3 separate regions of the Homo sapiens genome follow, and all the other regions are linked to region 2. The links are contacts of gene promoters, found by promoter capture Hi-C in human tissues and cell types (Jung and others, 2019). All regions are on one chromosome and are shown on one strand. The core of a region is centred on a gene start or on the middle of the fragment in contact, and the rest is flanking DNA. Distances in the headings are between cores, read along the strand shown.

Evidence for each region. Contacts are between HindIII fragments. The study calls those that stand out against the background at their distance.
Region 1: a fragment that was not itself captured here is called in contact with the fragment with the promoter of CEMP1 in region 2 in 4 of the 25 tissues and cell types used here (dorsolateral prefrontal cortex, lymphoblastoid cells, spleen and 1 more).
Region 3: a fragment that was not itself captured here is called in contact with the fragment with the promoter of CEMP1 in region 2 in 2 of the 25 tissues and cell types used here (dorsolateral prefrontal cortex and lymphoblastoid cells).

The regions. Positions count from the first base shown.
Region 1 is chr16:2,438,451-2,441,329 of GRCh38, forward strand. CCNF (cyclin F) reads left to right here. Exons shown (of 17, transcript NM_001761.3): 7 at 903-1,007; 8 at 1,299-1,376. Among named protein-coding and RNA genes, the nearest start is that of MIR6767, 5.5 kb to the right of the region's middle. RefSeq lists a silencer at 1,836-1,925. The HindIII fragment of the contact is 4,391 bases long and covers 1-2,879 here.
Region 2 is chr16:2,529,843-2,532,964 of GRCh38, forward strand. CEMP1 (cementum protein 1) reads right to left here and starts at 1,566. Exons shown (of 1, transcript NM_001048212.3): 1 at 193-1,566. The coding sequence starts at 1,231. The coding sequence ends at 488. It overlaps AMDHD2 (amidohydrolase domain containing 2), which reads left to right. Exons shown (of 11, transcript NM_001330449.2): 11 at 1-1,575. It overlaps MIR3178 (microRNA 3178), which reads right to left and starts at 2,163; the gene lies at 2,080-2,163. RefSeq lists enhancers at 1,969-2,018, 2,797-3,122, 2,799-2,848. The HindIII fragment of the contact is 25,225 bases long and covers 1-3,122 here.
Region 3 is chr16:2,415,235-2,418,104 of GRCh38, forward strand. It overlaps the pseudogene ABCA17P. Among named protein-coding and RNA genes, the nearest start is that of CCNF, 13 kb to the right of the region's middle. The HindIII fragment of the contact is 3,069 bases long and covers 1-2,870 here.

The sequences.
Region 1 (2,879 bases), core at 191-2,690, 92 kb before region 2:
CCAAAATGGTGAAACCACGTCTTTACTAAAAAACACAAAAATTAGCTGGGCGTGGTGGCGGGTGCCCATAATCCCAGCTACTCAGGAGGCTGAGGCAGGGAGAATTGCTTGAACCTGGGAAGCGGAGGTTGCAGTGAGCCGAGATTGCACCACTGCACTCCAGCCTGGCAACAGAGTGAGACTCAGTCTCAGAAAAAAAAAAAAAAAGTATGGAAAAGGAGGAAGATGGTGAGTAGAGTGATTGAACATCAAGTAAAGAATAAGGGCCGGTCATGGTGGCTCATTCCTGTAATCCCAGCACCTTGGGAGGCCGAGGCGGGTGGATCACCTGAGGTCAGGAGTTTGAGACCAACCTGGCCAATGTGTTGAAACCACGTCTTTACTAAAAAACACAAAAATTAGCCGGGCATGGTGGTGGGCACCTGTAATCCTAGCTACTTGGGAGGCTGAGGCATGAGAGTTGCTTGAACCCGGGAAGCTGAGGTTTTAGTTAGCCAAGATCGTGCCACTATACTTTGGCCTGGGTGACAGAGGGAGACTCTGCCTCAACAACAACAAAAAAACCAGCCAGGCACAGTGGCTCATGCCTGTAATCCCAGCACTTTGGGAGACTGAGGTGGGTGGATCACCTGAGGCCAGGATTTTGAGACCAGCCTGGCCAACATGGTGAAACCCCGTCTCTACTAAAAATACAAAAATTAGCCGGGCATGATGGTGGGCTCCTGTAATCCCAGCTACTCAGGAGGCTGAGGCAGGAGAATTGGTTGAACCCAGGAGGCGGAGGTTGCAGTGAGCCAGGATGGCGCCATTGCACTCCAACCTGGGCGACGAGTGAAACTGTCTCAAAAAATAAAAATGAAAAAGAATAAGGGAACAATGAACTCTGCTGGGATTTATTCTAGGATGAGGAGAAGCAGCAGCAGGCCCATGACCTGTTTGAGGAGGCTGCTCATCAGGGATGTCTGACCAGCTCCTACCTCCTCTGGGAAAGCGACAGGAGGACAGATGTGAGTGGTGCCTGCTCTGGGTCGGGGGGAGTTATGCTGGACAAAGGCGTAGTTGATGCTGGTCCTTGGATGCGTTTCTGTCCACAAAAGGGAGGTGGCTCTTGCTGCTCCCGGTCTCTCAGCCTCCGGGAACCACTGGTCAGTCGGCTATTCTTGGTACCCCCAAAAATGACTCCACCATTTGAGAGAGAAGAGGTGGGAAGTTAGCGTAGTGTCGGCCCTTCTGGGTCTTGGTTCTGAGTTCCTCCCAAGACACAGTTGTACAAAGGCTCGGTGATCTCCCATTGACAGGTGTCAGATCCTGGGCGATGCCTCCACAGCTTCCGAAAACTCAGGGACTACGCTGCCAAAGGCTGCTGGGAAGCGCAGGTGAGGTGCGGGGCTGGGATGACGTGGGGAGCTGGCCTTTCTCCCTCCAGCCTTGGGGCAGGACTATCTGGGCTCCCACATTGGGGGGCAGGACTATCTGGGCTCCCACATGGGAGGCCAGGATTGAGGGACACCCTAAGATCGGTTCAGCACTGGAACTGGTCCTAAAGGACAGGTACACTGTGAGAAGAGCTGGGAAATGCGTTATTCATCTCTGCCTATCCACTCTTGCCTCTCAGCCAGCCAACCTCTTAATTTTCAAATGCTTGTGAGCTATAGCTGCTGTCAAAATTTGTGCCATTCTTGAAAGTTGTCCCATAGGTAGAACTGATCTTGACAACAAAACTTGAGGCTACTTGAGAGCAGAGGGGCGTGGAGAGTCCCTTCCTGCTTCCTCTTCCTGTTAGCGCCTTGCTTGTCATGTCACCTGGTCACCAAGTCATCCAGGGCTACAGGCAGGAAATCAAGCATTGGTAGACTCTCCCCTCACAGCTATAAATAAGTTGTTAGGGCCAGGTGCGGTGGCTCACGCCTGAAATCCCAGCACTCTGGGAGGCCAAGGTGGGCGGATGACCTGAGGTCAGGAGTTCGAGACCAGCCTGGCCAACATGGTGAAACCATCGCTACTAAAAATACAAAAATTAGCTGGGCGTGGTGGCAGGCACCTGATACTCAGGAAGTTGAGGCAGGAGAATCGCTTGAACCCGGGAGGCAGAGGTTGCAGTACCACTACACTCCAGCCTGGGCGACAGAGCAAGACTCTGTCTGAAGGAAAAAAAAAGTTGTCAGGACGAATCAAAGAAAGCTCCTATTTGCCAAATGGATAGAAGCTTGTTCTTGTCACCCCACCAAGTGGGTGGCAGAGTGATCTGCGCTCAAATGCTAGGGACAAAATTACAAATTGATAATGGCCCAGCCCGAGGTGTCATAGCACATTGTGGTGTTCACGTCCAAAAAGCCAGTCTACAGATTTACAAGAAGGCCAGACGTGATGGCTCACGCCTGCAATCCCAGCGCTGTAGGAGGTTGAGTTGGGAGGATCGCTTGAGCCCAGGAGTTCAAGACCAGCTCTGGCAACATAGTGAGACTCCATCTCGACAAAAAATTTTAAAATTAGCTGGATGGGCTGGGTGCAAGTGGCTCATGCCTGTAATGCCAGCACTTTGGGAGGCTGAGGCGGGCGGATCACGAGGTCAAGAGGTCGAGACCACCCTGGCCAATGTGGTGAAACCCCGTCTTTACTAAAAATACAAAAAAATTAGCTGGGCCTGGTGGCATGTGCCTAGAGTCCCAGCTACGCGGGAGGCTGAGGCAGGAGAATTGCTTGAACCCAGGAGGAGGAAGTTGCAGTGAGCCGAGATTGTGCCACTGCACTCCAGCCTGGCAACAGAGCGATACTCCATCTCAAAAAAAAAAAAAATTAGCTGGATGTGGTGGCGTGTGCCTTGTAGTGCAGCTACTCAGGAGGCTGAGGCAGGAGGATCACTTGAGCCTGCGAGGTCA
Region 2 (3,122 bases), core at 316-2,815:
TGGGCCTTGGGCCCCAGTGGGGGACAGGGCCTGTCTGCATGAAGTGGACCGGAGACCTGCAGACCCCAGGAAAGTGTCACTATGGGAGGGAGGGGCAGGCAGTCAGTGGCTGGTGCCATGGGGTGAAGCCACCATGGGCTGGGGGTGAAGAGCCGGCAGGAAGGGGACCAGTCACAGGGAGTGTGGACAGTCAGGGGTTTGCTTTCTGCTCCTGAGTTGGGGTGTGCAGCGTGGAGCCCACAGCCTGGTTCTGGGCCAGGGCACAGTGCCAGGGGCTCCGCTCTGACCTCCAGGAGGGAGACTGGGCCCGGGACCCCTGTTTTCTGCTCCCTGGACTGCCTAGCCCTGAGTGCCACGGATGACCAGCGTTCTGTTTTCTCTTCTCAATAACCCTATCTCTTCACACATCCCCAGGCCCAGTGCTTGCCGGCTGTGGTGACCCTGCCTGGTGCTGGAGGGCAGTATGGGAGGCACCAGTGTGCCCTGCTCACCCCATTAGTGTCATCCTGCCATCTTCTGTGTCCCCTTGGCCCTGGCACACACCCATGTGGCAAACACGGGCCGTGAGGCTCCCTGAACAGCTTCGAGGCGGGTGGGCTTCTGGAGCCCTCTTGGCTCTGAGGACAGCCACAGTGGGGTCAGACGTCAGGGATTGGTGCAGCCCCACGTCAGGGGTGATTGTCTTGACTTTCTCTCCATTTGAGTTCTGGGGTGGGTGGCTCCCTTCCCCCTTGCTTACAGGTGCTGTCCTGGGCACAGGAGGTACGCGCCTGGCTCTGCCACTGTTCTCTTCCCTCTGCTGCAAAGCCCAGTTAAGGAAATGTCTCCAGGTCCAAAGAGATAGGATGGTCTGGGCCCCACCTGTTGGAAGGGAACAGCCAGGGAAGAACCACCTGCCTGGGCAGGGCCTCGCCTGAGGGAGGGCCTGGGGCAGGGCACAAGGGGTTGATCTCAGCCCACAAGCCCCAGGGGCAGCCCAGGAAAGCAGGCGACGGATGTGGATCCTGACCTCCTGAGAGGTGTGAGGTGCAGGGATACCCACCTCTGCCTTGACGGCCGCGCACCCCTTAGGAAGTGGCTGTCCAGCGCCTGCCTGTGCTGGGCCTGGGAGAGGAGCTGTCTTGCCAGGGCTCCCAGGCAGGGAGAGGCAGGTGAGGTTCTCAGCCGATGTGTTAGAGGTTGAGCATCGCCTGTGCCCAGCTTGCTGGCTGTCAGTGCTTGATGTGCCCATCCTCAGCTAAAACCCAGAGCTGGCATGTTGGTCATCCCCACCTCAGACGGGACGCCCAGTCCAGAGCTGGTGAGCCCTGGGCCAGCCTTTGGGCCTGGCCTGCCCCATTCACCGGCCAGCGCCCCACCTCCCTGGCTGGAGGGTCGGGGAGGGGCTGGCAGAGATGGTTGGTCCACAGGGCTAGCCCTGGGTGGTGGGAGAGGGGCCCAGGGTCAGGGTGAGAGAGAGCTGGGCCAGGGAGCTGCTGCAGGATGATTTTGAGGTGTGGGGGAAGCACTCTTGGTTGGTTTTGGTTTGCTTTTTAAAAATTGTGGTAAAATACATAACAAAAGTAACTATCGTAACCTGAGCAGTTCTGTGACATGAAGTGAATTCACTGCTTTGTGTGACCTTGGCCACCATCATTCCCCACCACTCACTCCCGCTGGGCTCCCAGCCCTGCCCCACCATTCCGCTCCCTCTACAGCTATGGGTTTTACAAAGAAGGATGCAGGGCGCCCTGACTGCGGGGTGAGGGGCAGGCCTGCCCGCGGTGTGGGCATTCGCTGAAGGGGGACGCCCAGGTGTCTGCCTGAGTTACGGGTTGGGGGGTCGGGCATGTGGGGAGGGATGGAGTTGGAGGTGCATGCTCTCAGAGCTGGTAGGGGTGGCCCGTTTCGTCCCGTGTGTGAACTGGAGATGAGACCCGGCGCCTGCGATCCCGCAGACCGCGCCCGGCCGGGTGTCACTTGTGGGCGCACGCTGCCGGGATGCTGGGCCGAGCCCGCGGTTTAAGACCCAGATCTCAGCCAGGTCCCTTTCGCCGTCCGAGCCTCTGCACCTCGTGGGCTCCGAGCACATCCAGGCCAGAGACTGCGTTTGGGGCGTGGGCACGGGAGACCGTCATCAGCCAGGACGCTCTCGACCGATCCGGCCGCGCCCCGCCCAGCCTCGTAGCGCAGGCGCTGAGTCCAGGCTGACGCGCAACTCTGGGAGCGTTGCGGCACGCGGGGCCTTGCCTACTGTGGGAGGGGCTTCTGGGGGCGGGCTTCTGTCGGGCCAATTAGGATCGCCGCAGGGAAGGCACGCGCCGCGGCTGAGCAACAGGGGCGCGCGTCACCTTCTCTAGTTAACCCGCGCGGCCCCGGGCACAGAGCCCGAGGCTGCGCGGTCCCCGGCGGGCCCGCGGACCCCCCCCATCTCTGCGCCCCCCACATCTCTGCGGACCCCGCCTCGCCCCAGCCCTCCCATCCACAACCCTCACAACCTTGCATACCCCGCTACGCTCCCCACCGCGCCCTCACATTCCTGCAGACCCCGTCTCCCCACAACGCTCCCCGCCAACGCTGCGGAGCTCCGCGTCGCCCCAGCGCTCCCTGCCAAGCCCCCCACACCCCTGTAGACCCCGCCTCGCCCCAACCCTCCGAGCTGCTCCCCTTATACCCTTGCGGACCTAGTTTGTTTCGTCCCAGTCCTCCCCGTCGCGTCTCCCACATCCCTGCGGACCTCCCCGCGCCTCGCCTCTCCCTTCTGTTACGTATCACGCACAGGTGGATCCCACTACGACCCAGCTTGGCTCCTGTCCCGCACCTCCGCACCTGGCCTCTAGCCCCGCCCTCACTGTCTTGGGAAATGAAGCGGAGGGGTGGGCCGGACACTCTAGAAGCACCCTGGCTCGGAGCTTCCCTAGCTCGGAGTTGGTTTGGAGCCCAGGCTAGGGACCCAGGGTGGGCGCAGCAGGGGAGATTGGCACCAGAAGCGTGGAGGAAGGGCACCTCTTCAGCCCGGCTTTTCCGCCCCTGGAGTCTGGGACAGCTCCGGAGCGTCCGGGTACTCCCTCCCAGACTGGCCCTGTTCCTTTTATCACATTTATGTCACACACGTTTTTTCTAAATGGGTTTACACTTTTGCT
Region 3 (2,870 bases), core at 187-2,686, 110 kb before region 2:
AAACAGACTTGGCCTCTGTCCAAAGGGAGGGTGCCTTCGGGGGCTGCTGGAGCAGCATGTTCCCTGATAATCAGTGCTGGTGGGTGGTAGAGAACAATGTAACCACCTGCTAGGGGACAGTCAGGATTCCTGTGGCCACATGCCCAGCACAGACTTTCAAACAACCTTTGGGCCCCTCCCCTCATTTTTTTTTTTTAAGAAAGAAGGTCTTGCTCTGTTGCCCAGGCTGGAGTGCAGTGGTGCAATTATGGCTCACTGCAGCCTAGAACTCCTGGACTCAACCAGTCCTCCCACCTCAGCCTCCTGAATAGCTGGAACTATACAGGTGCACACCACCGTGCCTGGCTCAGAAGTATAGTTTTCTACCTTTATGATGTGGAAGACCCTCCAGAGCTTGCCATGAAACCCAGAAACGACAAAGTAGTATATAATATTTAAATACATAAACATTCAAGTCTATATAAGAAAAGACACATTAACTGATGTTAAATAACGGAAATACTTGACACATACATAAAGGACAAAGACACATACATATATATACATACACACATATATATATATCTCCATCATATAAATCAGTGAGAAAATATGAACAATTTGTTAGTAAAAAATGGGCTGAAGAAATAAATGGGCTATTCATAGAAGAAAAAACATCCAGTGCCTAATAACCATATGAAAATATGCCTAATTTTACCTAAGGATTTATAGACAGATAATATCTAGTATTATCAACAGAATCGGAAATAGGCATCCCCATAGGCTATTGGTAAGATCAAGCTTTTTGGAGGACAATTTGGCACTATTTATTAAATTTTAAAAGTGCACCCCTGGCGGGGCGTGGTGGGTCACGCCTGTAATCCCAGCACTTTGGGAGGCTGAGGCAGGCGGATCACGAGGTCAGGAGATGGAGACCATCCTGGCTAACACAGTGAAACCCCATCTCTACTAAAAATACAAAAAATTAGCCGGGCATGGTGGTGGGTGCCTGTAGTCCCAGCTACTCGGGAGGCAGAGGCGGGAGGCTGAGGCGGGAGAATGGCGTGAACCCGGGAGGCGGAGCTTGCAGTGAGCAGAGATCACGCCACCGCACTCCAGCCTGGGCCACAGAGCGAGACTCCGCCTCAAAAAAAAAAAAAATTAACCAGCACACTCACTCTGAGGGAAGCTAAGTGCCATTGCCATGTCATGCAGACACCTAGGTGGCCCTGCAGAGAGGTCTGTGTGCTGAGGAGCAGTCAGAAAGTACCTGAGACCTGCCAGCCACTTGGAAACAGCTCCTTTAGCCTTCAGGAGACTTCCAGCCCAACTGACAGGTTAGCAGCACCCCATGAGAGACCCTGACCAGCACCACCTAACTAAGCTGCTCTGAGATTCCTGATCTAATGCATAGAAACCATGAAATAACAAATTACACCCACGTTTTGGAGTAATTTGTTATGCAGCAACATATGACTAATCACATAGGAAGGATACAGTGCGAAGGCTTAATATGTGTGTAACAGAAGTTCCAAAAGGAAGGGCAGACAAGGCAACATTTGAAACCACATGGCTAAAACTTTTCAAAATGTATGAAAGACATCAATCACAAATGAAGCCCTATTAGCCCCAAGCAGGATAACAAAAAGAAATCAGCCCCTAGGAGCAGTATAGTAAATTTGCTGAAAACCAAACACAAGAAAAAGTCTTAAAAGGACCCAGAGATAAAACGTGGAGTCCCTTCACAAGAGCAACAGTTACACTGGCAGCTGGCCCCATCACAGAAATAATAGAGGCCAGAAGACAATAGAATGATACATTGTAAGTGATATAAGAGGAAACAACCTACCTAGAGTAAAGTAACCCATAAAACTACACTTAGGAAAGAAAGTTTTGTTTGTTTGTTTGTTTGTTTGAGATGGAGTCTCGCTCTGTTGCCCAGGCTGGTACAGTGGCATGATCTAGGCTCACTGCACCCTCTGCCTCCTGGGTTCAAGCGATTATCCTGCCTCAGCCTCCGGATTAGCTGGGATTACAGGTGCCTGCCACCACACCCAGCTAATTTTTGTATTTTTAGTAGAGACGGGATTTCACCATGCTGGCCAGGCTGGTCTCGAACTCCCACCCTCAGGCGATCTGCCCTCCTCGGCCTCCCAAAGTGCTGGGACTACAGGTGTGAGCCACCAGCACCCGGCCAGAAGGTATTTTTAAAAAGACCTTCAGACAAATAGAAGCTGAGAGAATTTATCACCAGCAGATGTATGCAAAAGGAGATAATAAAGAGTAAGTTTCAGGCAGAAGGAAAATGATCCCAGATGGAAACTCAAAGATTCAGAAAGGGCTAGGTGCGGTGGCAGAGCTCATACCTGTAATCCTATCACTTTGGGTAGCTAAGGCAGGTGGATTGCTTGAGGCCAGGAGTTCGTTCGAGACCAGCCCAGGCAACACAGTGAGACCCCCATCTCTACAAAAAATAACAAATTAGCTGGGTGTAGTGGCCTGCTCCTGTAGGCCCAGCTACTCCAGAAGCTGAAGTAGGAGGTTCACTTGAGCTCAGGATTTGAAGTTATGGCAAGCCATGCTCATACCACTGCACTCTAGCCTGGGTGACAGAGCAAGACCCTATTAAAAAAAAAATACAGAAAGGATGGCTGGGCGGGGTGGCTTATGCCTGTAATCCCAGCACTTTGGGAACCCAGGGTTAAAAAAAGGAGTAAAAAGTGATTATTTATTTTTTTATTTTTTTTATTTTTTTTTGAGACAGAGTCTCGCTCTGTCGCCAGGCTGGAGTGCAGTGGCGTGATCTCGGCTCACCGCACCCTCCACCTCCTGGGTTCAAGTGATTCTTCTGCCTCAGCCTCCCGAGTAGCTGGGATTACAGGCACGCGTCA